Regions from separate parts of the Homo sapiens genome. Here region 1 is linked to region 2. The links are contacts of gene promoters, found by promoter capture Hi-C in human tissues and cell types (Jung and others, 2019). All regions are on one chromosome and are shown on one strand. The core of a region is centred on a gene start or on the middle of the fragment in contact, and the rest is flanking DNA. Distances in the headings are between cores, read along the strand shown.

Evidence for each region. Contacts are between HindIII fragments. The study calls those that stand out against the background at their distance.
Region 1: a fragment that was not itself captured here is called in contact with the fragment with the promoter of POLD2 in region 2 in 1 of the 25 tissues and cell types used here (mesenchymal stem cells).

Annotation. Positions count from the first base shown.
Region 1 is chr7:44,159,919-44,166,232 of GRCh38, forward strand. The region is part of intron 1 of GCK (glucokinase); the gene reads right to left. Among named protein-coding and RNA genes, the nearest start is that of MYL7, 22 kb to the left of the region's middle. The HindIII fragment of the contact is 4,625 bases long and covers 441-5,065 here.
Region 2 is chr7:44,120,346-44,126,935 of GRCh38, forward strand. It overlaps POLD2 (DNA polymerase delta 2, accessory subunit), which reads right to left and starts at 3,203. Exons shown (of 11, transcript NM_006230.4): 1 at 3,166-3,203; 2 at 1,489-1,764. The coding sequence starts at 1,708. It also overlaps the pseudogene RNA5SP230. RefSeq lists a silencer at 2,889-3,598 and enhancers at 3,385-4,289, 3,809-3,868. The HindIII fragment of the contact is 6,473 bases long and covers 1-4,534 here.

The DNA of each region.
Region 1 (6,314 bases), core at 1,503-4,002, 39 kb after region 2:
GCCAAAGCCTGCTAAAATTAGCTGGAGCTGGCAAGTGGGTCAGGGTATGGAGGGTGCCTTGTCAGAATGCCAGGTCTCTCGCCAATGGCCAGAGTGATCACTCCCAAGAAAGCCCTTGATACAATTGATCCCTTTCCCAATATAGAGCAGAGATGGCCTCATCAGATCTCATGTGACAGGCCACTGACCCCCACAGCCCCCAGCTCTGAGCTACTGTTTGCTCATGGGGGCAGGGCTCACACCCAGGTTTGGAGTGGCACTGGGGCCTTCTGGTTCAGCCAGGCCAAGAAGCAGCCACCCAGCGAGACTTGCCCTTCTTCTGGGCCAAGCACACAGCACAGGGGAGGAGAATCTAAATTCAGTTCTCAAGAAAGGCTGAGGATGTGTACAAAGCCTGAAGCTGAGGCAAGTGGGCCCCCTTTCTTGGTTGACTGAACTGCCAGTGCCCTCTCTAGCCTCTATTTAGAGCAACAGGCATCCCCTAGAGTTCCTTTCTGGGAGCCACCTGCTGATATTCATTGGCATCCATGAGGCCAGAAAGCGGCCCAACACCCCTACTTCCCCACACCGTCTAATTCTCCGGGACCAGATTCTCATGACTCATGCCAGCCCTCCTGGGCACCCACCCTTGTCCTGTCTCAGTGCCTCTTCTTCAGGATAAGGGGTGACACCAACAGTCTGTACTGCACTGGAGTTGAGAGTCATTGTAGCAGGAACAGTTCCTGCTTTCCAGGAATTTTGGAAGGGCAAGACTGTCCAGAACCTGTCCAGAGAAGAGGGGCCAAGAAGGGGAGGGCCTCAGAGATGATGGCTCATGGAGGATGACCAGGACATGCTTAGAGTCTTCAGTAGCTCAAGGGCTGTCCCGAGGAGGATGGATGAACATTGTTTCTGCTTAGAGCTTTCTAAAAAGACAGAACTGTGCAGCTGTGGGCTAGGATGTCTCAGTAGATAGTGAACTCCCCATTTCATGGGGAGAGAAAGACAAGAGCAGAATCAGAAGGGACCTTGCTCTATGTCCCAGTGGTACCCCCATTTCTTAGTTGCTCAGGGTTCTGATTGACAGACATGACTTGATTTTCTTTTTCATTCATCAAAAGAAAATAATATGACAAGTTTGGTGATGGATATTCAAGATGATTAATTCTACTATCAAAAAACGAGACACAACCCACATACCCAACTACAGGAGGTTGGTTAAATAAATTATGCTACACTTACATGTAGTCATTAAAAATGGTAAGATTCATCTGCTCTATTGGCATGGAAAGATGTTCATGACATACTGTTGAAAGGGAATGTGTAGCCGCCCTTGAAGCTGGCCTTCAATTAGCCCTGCTTCTGGTATTCACCCCATGGTATAGTCTCTTCCATGCAGAATAGGTCTAGCCTGTGTAACTAATATGATAATGCAGAAATGGTGGAGTATGACTTTGGAGCCTAAGCCAGAAAAGACCCTGTGGTTTCTGCCTTGTTCTCTCCTGGACTGTTCCCTCTGGGGGAAGCCAACTGCTATGCTATGAGGTTGCCTACAAGAACTCTGGGAAGATCCATTGAGAAGAAGCGAAGTCTCTTGCCAATACGCAACTCCAACTTGCCAGCCATGTGAGTGGACCACTTTGGAAGCAGCTCCTCTGGCCCCAGTCAAGCCTTCAGGTGATGCAGCCCCAGCCAAAACCCTGACCTCAGGAGAGACACCAAGCCAGACCACCCAGCTAAGCTGCTTCTGAATTCTTGACCTACAGAAACTGTGTGAGATAACAAAGGTTTGTTGTTTCAAGCTACTATGGTTTTTTTTAAAAACACTTTATGAAATAAAATTTTGTTATTACAGAACAAATAAGTTTAGAAACCATTTTCTATCTTTTAGCATATGATCCAGATATAAGACAGTGTCATACCACATTCTTGTCATCATAATACACGGAAAGGTGAAGCCACTAAGTTTTGAGGCAGTTTGTTATACAGCAATAGATGACTAACACAGGGGAAGAACAGGAAACATAGTATGATCCATTTTTGTCGTATATACGATATAGATAATATATGTATTGGGAGGAAATATACCAAAATGGTGACAGTAATTATCTTGATGATGGTGGTATGAGGATTTTAATTTATTTTCCTTTTTGCTTATCTGTATTTCCTACCTTTTCTGCAGTAAATGGGTATTAATGGAGTAATATTTAACAATGAAGTTAAAAAAAGAAAGGTTGAGCCTTATCTGCCATTTTGCACAGAAGCAAGCCTGGAGGCCCAGATTCTAAAGGGTAGAGGTTCACAGTTAAATGAGCCAAGCTGCTAGACCCCATATGCCATTGGGAAAGATATTGGGAGCCAGGAAACCAGGGAACCCAAAGTGTCCGCCCTTCCACCACTGGCCTGTTCCCTGATACCCTCAGTACCAGCTGGGCACCAAGTGTGGGCACGCTGATGCAACAGGGCCTGGAGGTCAGCATGATGTTGCAAGTGTTTGCTTACAGCAGGGTAGACTTGAGACCGGCTGTGCTCTTGTGCTAAGGGGCAGGCTAAGGGCCTGGTGAGTGGGAGGGTGTTAGGCAGTGGCTGATGGCCAGGACATCAGGGAAAGAGGCAAGGGGAGAGCCGAGAGACAGCAGAGCATGCCAGGATCAAATGACCACAACTAGTGTGTGCCCTGTGGCTTCCACATGCCAGGGGATGTGCTAGACCCTTTAGATGGATTGAAACTGGCCGATGAGCTGAAGGCTGTCATTTTATATGCAGGGAAACTGAAGCCTATGGGAGTTAAGGGATTTACTAGGATGCAACAGCTATGAGTGACTTGGCTAAGATTCACCCATGGGTCACTCTGACTCCAGGATTGTTAACAGTTTGGTCTTCTTGACTAGATGGGGAGGGCTTCAGGGTCAAGCATATGCTGGGGGACAGGAAATATCCTTTGGGGCTTCTTCCATGCTGGAGATGTTCAGAGGCTTCAGCTGAAGCTGGTGGAGGTGGACACAGTGGTATCCACAGAGGTCAGTTTTGCCCCAGTGTTTGCCTCTGTCAACAGATGGAATGGAGCCTGGGGCTGGGTGTCAGGGATAAAGCCTAAGGCCAGCACTGTTGGGGTTGAAGAGCAGAGCATGAGTAAGGGTGCAGGGAGCAGCCCTGTGCATTGCCTAGGGAGGGGTTAGGAGAATCATCCAAGACTCTGTGCTGAGAGGCAGGATAACACTGGGGTAACACAGAACTGTAGGATCTCCAGCCTGAGTCTGGAGACTGGCTTTGCCACTCACTGGCTCTAGGGCCTCGGGCAAATTCCTTAATGTTTCTAGGCCTCAGTAAGGGGCAGGCAACAATTCTACTACCTCACAGGGCTGTTGAGAGGATTCAATGGGATAATGCAGGTAAGGCTCTTGGCACATACAAGTTGTTCAATAGTTTGTAGCTGTTGTTGCTACCAAAGGATATTTTAGCCCTTGGGTCAGAGTTTAAGACATGGGCTGTCCCCAGCTCTTGATTTACGGCAGATCTAATGCCAAACTCCTACCCCAATGCATACTGATTATTTCTGTGTTTTAAGGAGACAGACTAGGTGGCATAGACTCTTTGATGCTAGTCCTACAGTAAATCAATGAAGCTTTTTGTCTGAAAAGAGTTACTAGGGAATGATCCTCATGAAGCTGGCAACGTAGGAAACTTCAGGAATTGGTTCCTCTATCTAAACAACCAGCAAGTTAGAAAAGAAAAAAATCCTGTAAGAGTCAACTCTTTCAGAATTCTGGAACCTGATTGGACACTTACAGCAACCATGGGAGTGCTCGATGAAGGGAGAGGCATGCTGATGGCTCATAAGTGAGTGGTGTGGGCAAACCAGCTACCATCCTGCATTCTTCAACATTCCTGTGGCCATGTGGACAGTAATTGTGTTCCTAGAGCAGCTGGCTGGAGCAGGAGTGGGCAGAAAGGACCTTGTCTTCCAGAAATTTGGAGAATCAAATTTCTTTTGTTTATCTGGTGGTTCCCTGAGGGCTCAGAGTAGAGCTTGCCTTTGTTTCTGCCCCTTCAGGCAGCAGCAGCCTTCCAGGTGGCATCTATCAGAAGATTTTTAAAAAGGTACATACATGCTAGGTTTTTTGTTTCTTGGGTTTTAAAAAAATCTATGCATTTAAGGAATGCTCTTCCAGGTCATAGGCTGACTGCAGAGGCACCAGAACAGAAACGTCAGTGACCAGACACAAGAGAGAATACATACTTTGCAAAAATCGTTTGGAAAAGTCACTATACAAATGGACAACTGCAGCCCTCAACAAACAACAAAACCAATCTCAAAGGAGGGGGAGAATCTGGCTTCAGAATTACCACATTTTACTACTCAAAATGTTAAGTTTTCAACAAAGTATTACAAAGCAAATAAAGAGGAAGATATGACTCTCTAACAGGACAAAAATAATTTAAAAGAAGCTATCCATAAGGAATTTTAGACATTGGAATTACTAGTCAAAGACATTAAGTCAACTGTCTTAAATATGCTTAATTAACTAAAGAAAACCATGGACAAAGAACTACAGGAAATTGGGAGAGCAATGTATGAACAGATGGGGAATGACAATAAAAAGAATTTATTAAAGAGGAACCAAATAGAAATTCTGGATCTGAAAAGTACAATACTGAAATGAAAAAGTCACTGGAGGGGTTAAATGGCCAATTTGAGCAGGCAGAAGAAATAATCATTGAACTTGAAGAAAAGGCGATTGAAGTTATCCAGTCTGCAGAGCAGAAAAAAAGAAAGAAGAAAAATGAACAGAACCTGAGGGACCAGTAGGATACCATCAGTCATGCCAACTAAGTATACGGGAGCTCCAGAAGAAGAGAGATGGAAAGGGGAAGAAAAAGATATTTGAGAAATGGTGAAATAATTTCCCAGATTTGGTGAAAGACAAACGTACACATCCAAGAAGCTCAATGAAATCCAAGTGGGATAAACTCTAAGAAATTCACACTGAAACACATTATAGTCAAATTGTCAAAAGACAAAGACAGAGAGAGAATCTTGGAAGCAGCAAGAGAGAAATGACACATAGCATACATACCAAGGATTTGCAATAAGTTTAACAGATGATTTCTCATTAGAAACCAAGGAGGCCAAATGGCAGCTGTAATAATAATTACACTTTAGACCAGGCATGGTGGCTCATGCCTCTAATCCCAGCACTTTGGGAGGCCAAGGTGGGTGTATCACTTGAGGTCAGGAGTTCAAGATCAGCCTGACCAACATGGTGAAACCCCGTCTCTACTAAAAATACAAAAATTAGCTGGGCATGGTGGCGGGCACCTGTAATCCCAGCTAACTCGGGAGGCTGAGGCAGGAGAATTGCTTGAACCTGGGAGGCGGAGGTTGCAGTGAGCAGAGATTGCGCCACTGCACTCCAGCCTGAGTGACAGAGGGAGACTCCATCTCAAAATAATAATAATAATAATAATAACACTTTAATAATAATTGAAGTGCTGGGAAAAAAACTATTAACTAAGAATCTTATAGCCAGCAAAACTATTCTTCAAGAATAAAAAAGAAATTAGACATTTCAGATAAAGAAAACCAAAGGGAATTAATTACCGGCAGGCCTGCCCTATAGGAAATGCTAAAGGGAAACATTGAGGCTAAAATGAAAAGACACTAAGTAGTAATTCAAAGACATCTGAAGACATAAAAATACACTGTTAAATGTCACTATATAGGTAAATATAACAGCAAATATTAATGTAGTTTTTCTTTGTGATTCTTGTTTTCCTGTATGATTTAAAAGGCAAATGCAGAAAATAATAATAAGTTTATGTTAGTGAGGATATAATGTATAAAAACATAATTTGTGGGAATAACAATATAAAGGAAGAAGGATGGAGATATATAGGAGTAGAGTGTTCATGTACTATTGGAACTATTATTCAAACTAGCTTCTTATAAGTGTAAGATGTTAATTGCCATCCTCAAGGCAATCATTAGGAAAATAACTAAAAAATATGAGAAAAGGAAAGTGACACAGGATTTTTTCCTTGGTCACTTTGCAAGCCAGGGACCTTGGTGATGCCCTGCCCAGGCCTCACTTGGCCATGCTACCTGCTGTGGGAGATGGCCCACTAACCCGTGCTGCCCAGACCAAGTCTGGCTTGTGCACTGGTTCCCGAGTTCTTGTACCACACCCAAGAAAAATGAGGATACGCTGACAATCAAAGAGGGAGCAAGGTGAGAGTTTCATTGAGTGATGAAAACAGCTTTCAGCAGAGAAGGGATACAGAGGTGGTCCCCCTACCTGAAGTTGGCAAAGTGCCCCCAATGTGGCTGATTCCAG
Region 2 (6,590 bases), core at 1,953-4,452:
TGGCATTGACATTGGGCCCAAGTAGTAACTGAGCTCTGAAAGGAGCCAAGGAAGGTGTCCCGAGGGCTGAAAGGAAAGTGAGGAAAAGCTACCGGAGCCGCAGGAGGGAGCCCCTGATTATGTGGGAGAGGAGAGGTGAACAGCACTTTGTCTCAGGTAAACAAAACAGAAAACATCCTGATATGATTTGGCTCTGTGTCCCCACCCACATCTCATCTGGAATTATAATCCACACGGTGTTGACGGAGGGACCTGGTGGGAGGTGACTGGATTGTGGGGGTGGATTTCCCCCATGCTGTTCTTGTGATGGTGAGTGAGATCAAGCCATCATGCGATCTGATGGTTTAAAAATGGTTGGCAGTTCCCCTTGCTCTCTCTCTCCTGCTATCATGTAAAAGAGCCTTGCTTTCCCTTCACCTTCTGCCATGATTGTTAAGTTTCCTGAGGCCTCCCCAGCCATGAGGAACTGTGAGTCAATTAAACCTCTTTTCTTTATAAATTACCCTATCTCAGGTAGTTTTTTATAGCAATGTGAAAATGGACTAATACATATCCCTAATGAATTTGAGGTTCTAGCTAGATTTCTAGGCCCAGGGTTCTCCTGCCTGCCTATAACGAGAATTGATCTTGGCTTGGCATGGGATGAGATGGGCTTCTCAAAGCTCCCCAGGGGATTCCAATGTGCAACTAGGGCTGAGATCCATTTTGCCTGGTGCCAAGGACAGTAAAAATGAGTAAGACCTGGTCTCACCTACTAAATCCTCAGTTTAAAAATATAATAGGAGATGGATTTGAAAATTACCTGGAAAGCCACTCTTATGTAAGTGGTAGGAATGGGGGAATGCAGCAGCACCTAAAACTCAAATAAACTCAAAGGGGGAGATGGGGGTCCCTGCTTCACCACCAAGAGTAATCCAACTGCAGGAGAGATCACCAGGGAAGAAATGGGGGCAAAGAACAAGGGTTGTGTTGGGCAGGCCACTTTATTAGGAAAGACAGAGGGCCCAAGGGACAGGAAAATTCATGGCCAGCAAATATGGGGGCCAGGAGGAGAGGCAAACAGACATGAGTGAACAGAGGGGGTCCCCTCGAGACCAGAGAGTGCATCCTCACCAGTCTTGGCTCCTGGTGCCTGGCGCCAGGCTTGCCACACTGAGGGGCTCTCTGGCTACAGCACAGGCAAATACCTGAATAATCTGCACTGAAGATAGGAAAACCATTTTCCTCTGCCAGTGAAGTAATCGCCATCACCGCCAGAACTAAGTCCTCATCTCCAACCAGCCTCTGAACTAAAACTAACTCCAAACCCACAAATTACTTAATTTAATCCTTGTTACTATCTTAAGAAGAAACTGAGGGAAAAAGAGGTTAATTTTCCCAAGGTAACAGGAAGTGGGATCAATTAGATAAACTGTTCCCATTCTCTTGCAGAACACTTCTAAGTTCAGGGATGCTGTGGGGGAAGCACCTTCCCAAACTCTCACTTACCCCAGTGCTGCTGGGCCCGGTTCTCCAGGAAGGGTCTCATTTGGATGAGGCGGGTGGCATAAATGTGGGCATACTGCCGGCTAAAGCTGCGCTCTCCTAGCCGGAAGGGTTGTGAGGAGTTGGTGTAGGTTGCCACTGGCACCCGGGCAAAGGTGGCATTGTTGGCTGATGGTGGGGACAGTAGAGTGTGGGCCCTCTGGGCAGCCTGCTCAGAAAACATGGCCACACTCCTGACTTGCTTGGTCCACACAGCTTCGCCCAGGCCAAGGAGGTTCACTGCGAAAACACAAAGGCATTCCTGCTGCCCCTGTCCATCCCCCAAAGCAGCAGCTCTCCTGGTGTCTCACTGCACCCAAAGGATACTGGGAAAAGAAGGAGAACAGCTGTAGTTGACACCAGACATTGTGTCCACTTGGAAATTTATCGTGCCTGGATACCGATGTCTCACCCTGTAGCGGTCATCCAAAAAGAGAAAAGGAAAGCTAGGAGTGTTTGTCCCATCTGGAGTTCTTCCCGAACCCTAGACTCAGGTGTCCTGTTCCATCTGGACAACTACCAGGGTCTCAATCAAGTTCAGTTTGCCCCAAATGGAATTCCCGATCTGCCTCCATCCAGCTCTCCGGCACCTGTCTCATTTCCAGACAAGAGGTCTGCCTTATTAAATAAAACTTCTGTGAAATAATAAGCCTATTATTAAATAATAATAGAACTAAACCAAAACCAAAACATAAATCAGTCACTGCTCTGTTCAAAACTCTCCAAAGTGTCCTCATTTCATTGAATAAGGCCCCAAGTCCTTACAACTGCCTATGAGATCTGCTCCACTGGTCCTCTCCCCTCCTGGTTCCCACTCCTCCACCTTGGATCCCTCCCCACAGCAAGGGGCCTCTGAACTCTTGCTTGCCCCTCTCCCGTATACTTATAGAGCTCACTTGCCCATCTCCTTCAAGTTCTTACATCTTTACTCAAATGTTACCTTGTGCCCTGCCCATCTGATTTACAACTGCAACTCTCCCCAGTACTTCAACTGTTATTGTTGTTTACAACATTTACCTTCTAACAAACTGTATATTTTAAATGTATTGTCTGCCTGCTCCAACTAGACCATAAGCTCCAGGAGAGCTGAGATTTTTGTGTCTTATGCCACTAGCCACCTAGGGCTACGAAGTACAGGAGATGTGGTGAGTCCAACTGTGATGTTTGGGTTGGACACACAATGGATTTCTAAGAATAGTACAAAGAATATCCCAATAATTTTTTCACATACAATTGAAATAATAGTTTGAATATATTTATGGATTTACTCCAATTGATTTGTTTCGTTTTACTTTTTTCGTACACCTACTAGAAAGTTAAAAAATTCCCTAGCGGCTTGCAATCTATCTCCACGGGACAGCACTGGCCTGGGACACAGGCTCCGCACACGTGTCTAACGAGTGACTCGTTAGGAGCTTTTGGCTCGAACGTGCTTGATGGCGGCAGCAGCCAGGCCGCGCTACTCGGGATGGGGCCGAGAGCGCCCTGGGGGCTGTCCCAGTCACGGCGGGTGCCCCGGCTCGGATCCACGCGGCAGCTGCGGGACGTCCGCCAAGACACCAGCCCACCGACCCAGGAGCCCGGCCTCGCGGCCTGGAACTGCCACCCCCAGCTGACCCCGTTTCCCTGGACCCCACTCACCGCGCGGCGCGCCGCATCCCGCCAATCCCCGCGCGCCTGCCCCGCCCATCGCCGCAACTCGCTAATCCCCGCGCGGCTTCCCCGCCCATCGCCTAATCTCACCAATCGCTGCCCTCCTCGCCCCGTCCGTCACCAGGCGCCTCATCCCGCCGACCACTGTGCGCCCAGTCCCTGGGACGCCCAGAGAACGCGGAGCCACACCCTCGGTTTCCTGGGCAACGCGGGGCGGGGGCTCGCAGGCCGGCGCCGCGGGTCTTTGGTTGGCGGCCGCGCGTGCAGGGGTTGGGCTGACGGGGGGTGTCGGCCTCCAGTGGGCTGACCGCGTCACCCCGTCAGGCCCTGCCCAAACCTCCCAGTGGTCGTCACCCCGCCAGACCTCCCAGTGGTCGGCCGCCAGCCTCCTTGGTGAAGCCCCCAGCGTCCCAGCTTTCCCCGCAGAGCTGCCCACTTGTAGCGATGGCGACACGCGAGGAGGATCCCAACAGAAAGAAGGCCCAAGGCCCACTAACTTGGCCGGGGAGAAGTAACTCTTCCTGAAGGGATGGCGCGGGGTCTCGGGGTTCCTCCCGTCCTGCCAGCGTCTGCGTCCGGGAAACGCATTGGCGGTTTCGGGGTCCTCCCTAGCTTGCCCACAGCTGCACACCAGCTTCCAGCCCAACACTCCCCAATCTCCAGTGTCCTCGTTGTCCCCGTTACTCATACTCGTTCTTACCACCACGTCTTTCTGAGTGCTGTCTCCCACTTTGGGAATACTTTTTTTTTTTTTTTTCCATCTCCACTAATTTATAGAATTCCTCACCCCATCAAGAGACGCTTCCCCACTAAGCTTCCCGGGCTCTTCCCGCCGCGCGCTGATTCTCCCAGGCGTCCTCTAGCGCTACTGTTCTGCTACTTCCCTGGGCCTGTTTCCTAAGTCCAGGTCTTGTCTCCACAACGAGTGGATATTAACACTCGTTAATTATTACTTAATATTTTAATTTTTGTTTTTGTTTGTTTGTTTGAGGCAGCGTCTTGCTCTGTGGCCCAGGCTGGAGTGCAGTGGTGCGATCTCGGCTCACTGCAGCCTCGAACTCCCAGGCTCCAGTGATTCTCCCGCCTCAGCCTCCCGAGTAGCTGGGACAACAGGCGCGCAGCACCACGCCTGGCTACTTTAAGTTTGTGTGTGTGTGTGTGTGTGTGCGTGTGTGTGTAGAGACAGGGTCTCCCAATGGTGCCCAGGCTAGTGTGGAACTCCTGGGCTCAAGTGATCCTCCCACCTCAGCCTCCCAAAGTGCTGGGATTACAGGCATGAGCCACCACGCCCAGCCTTATATTTTAATTTAAAATGTGATATTTTAATTATTAAACGCCTTTGCAACTGCTTTGAGGTTATGACACATTAATTCATCTGCTCCTCAAATAATCCTTTGGGTCAGACACAGTGGTTCACGCCTGTATCCCAACACTTTGGGAGGCCGAGGTGGGAGGATCGCTTAAGCCCAGGAGGCTGAGGTTGCAGTGACCTAAGATTGCACCACTGCACTTCAGCCTGAGCGACAGAGCCAGACGCTGTCTCAAAGCAAGCAAACAAACAAAAAACCTTTGAAGCATGAACTATTATTTTTCTCCCACTTTACACATGAGGAAATTGAGGCAGGGAGGGCAAGAGAGATCATGTAGCTAGTGAGTAATAGCTGGGATTCACACAGAGACAGCAGGACTCTTGCTGGTAAGGTTGTACTGTTCTGAGCCTTCACCTGAAACATTGTACATGTATTGGGCAAACAAATAATTTTACTTTTTCCTTTCCAATTCAGATGCTTTTTATTTCTTTTTTCTTACCTGATTACTCTGGCTAGAACTTCCCATACTATGTTGAGTAGAAGTGGTGAAAGTGGGCATCTTTGTCTTATTCCGGATCTTAAAGGGGAAGCTTTCAGTCTTTAGCATTAAATATGTTGCTAGCTGTGAGTTTGGGGATTTGGCCTATGGATTTTATTATTTGAGGTAGTTTCCTCCTATTCTTAGTTTGTTGAGCTTTTTCTTCTTTCAAAAGAGTGTTGAATTTTGTCAAATACTTTTTTGACATCAATTGAGATGACCGTGTGGGTTTTTTTTCTGTTAATGTGGTCTATTACATTTATTGATTTTTATGTTGAACCATTCTAGCATTTCAGGAACAAATTCCACTTGGTGGAATTACAAACCAAAGTTACAATAATACTAGCTTTTAATGTATTCTCTTTTATATAATTAATTTTACTTTAATTGCACCTGAATTTTCCTTTAGCATAGACCGTTATTTCTCCCCTCCAAGTACTAACCAGGCCCAACTCTGCTTAGCTTCTGAGATTGGACACATTCAGGGTGGTACGGCCATAGATGAGATCTTTATTCGTTTATTCGGCTTTTTTTTTTGAGACAGGGTATCACTCTGTCACCCAGGCTGGAGTGCGGTGGCACAATCTCGGCTCACTGCAACCTCCGCCTCCTGGGTTCAGGTGATTCTCTTGCCTCAGCCTCCCAAGTAGCTGGGATTACAGGCATGTGCCACCACACCTGGCTAATTTTTGTATTTTTCGTAGAGATGGGGTTCCACCATATTAGCCAGGCTGGTCTCCAACTCCTCAGGTGATCCGCCCATCTCAGCCTCCCAAAGTGCTGAGATTACAGGTGTGAGCCACTATGCCTGGCCTCTTTATTCAGCTTTGAGTCACTGTCTAGTATCCTTTCATTTCATCCTGAAAGGCTTTCTTTGGCTTTCTTTGCAGGGCAGATCTAGTGATAATGAACTCCCTCAGCTTGTGTTTATCTGGGAATGTCTTCATTTTCCCTTATTTTAAAATAATGGTTAAGTGAGATACAGATACAGGATTCTCAGCTGACAGATTTATTTTTTTCTTTTAGCACTTTGAATATATCAATCTACTGCCTTTTGGCCTCTGAGGTTTCTGATGAGATAGCTGATGATCTTTTTTTTCTTTTTCTTTTTCTTTTTTTTTTGAAACAAGGTCACACTCTGTCACCCAGGCTGGAGTGCAGTGGTGGCACGATCTTGGCTTGGTGCACCCTCCGCCTCCCAGGTTCAAGTGATTCTCCTGCTTCAGCCTCCCGAGTAGCTGGGATTACAGGCATGCACCACCATGCCTCACCAATCTTTGTATTTTTAATGGAGATGGGTTTTTGCCATGTTGGCCAGGCTGGTCTCAAACTCCTGACCTCAAGTGATCCACCTGCCTCGGCCTCCCAAAGTGCTAAGATTACAGGTGTGAGCCACCGTGCCCAGCCAAGATATCTGATAATCTTTTTGAAGATCCCTTGTATGTGATGAGTCACTTCTCTCTTGCAGCTTTTGATATTGTCTCCTTGTCTTTGGCTTTCAGCAGTTTGATTATGATGAATCTCAGTATGAGTATCTTTGAGTTTTTCCTACTTGGAGTTTGTCG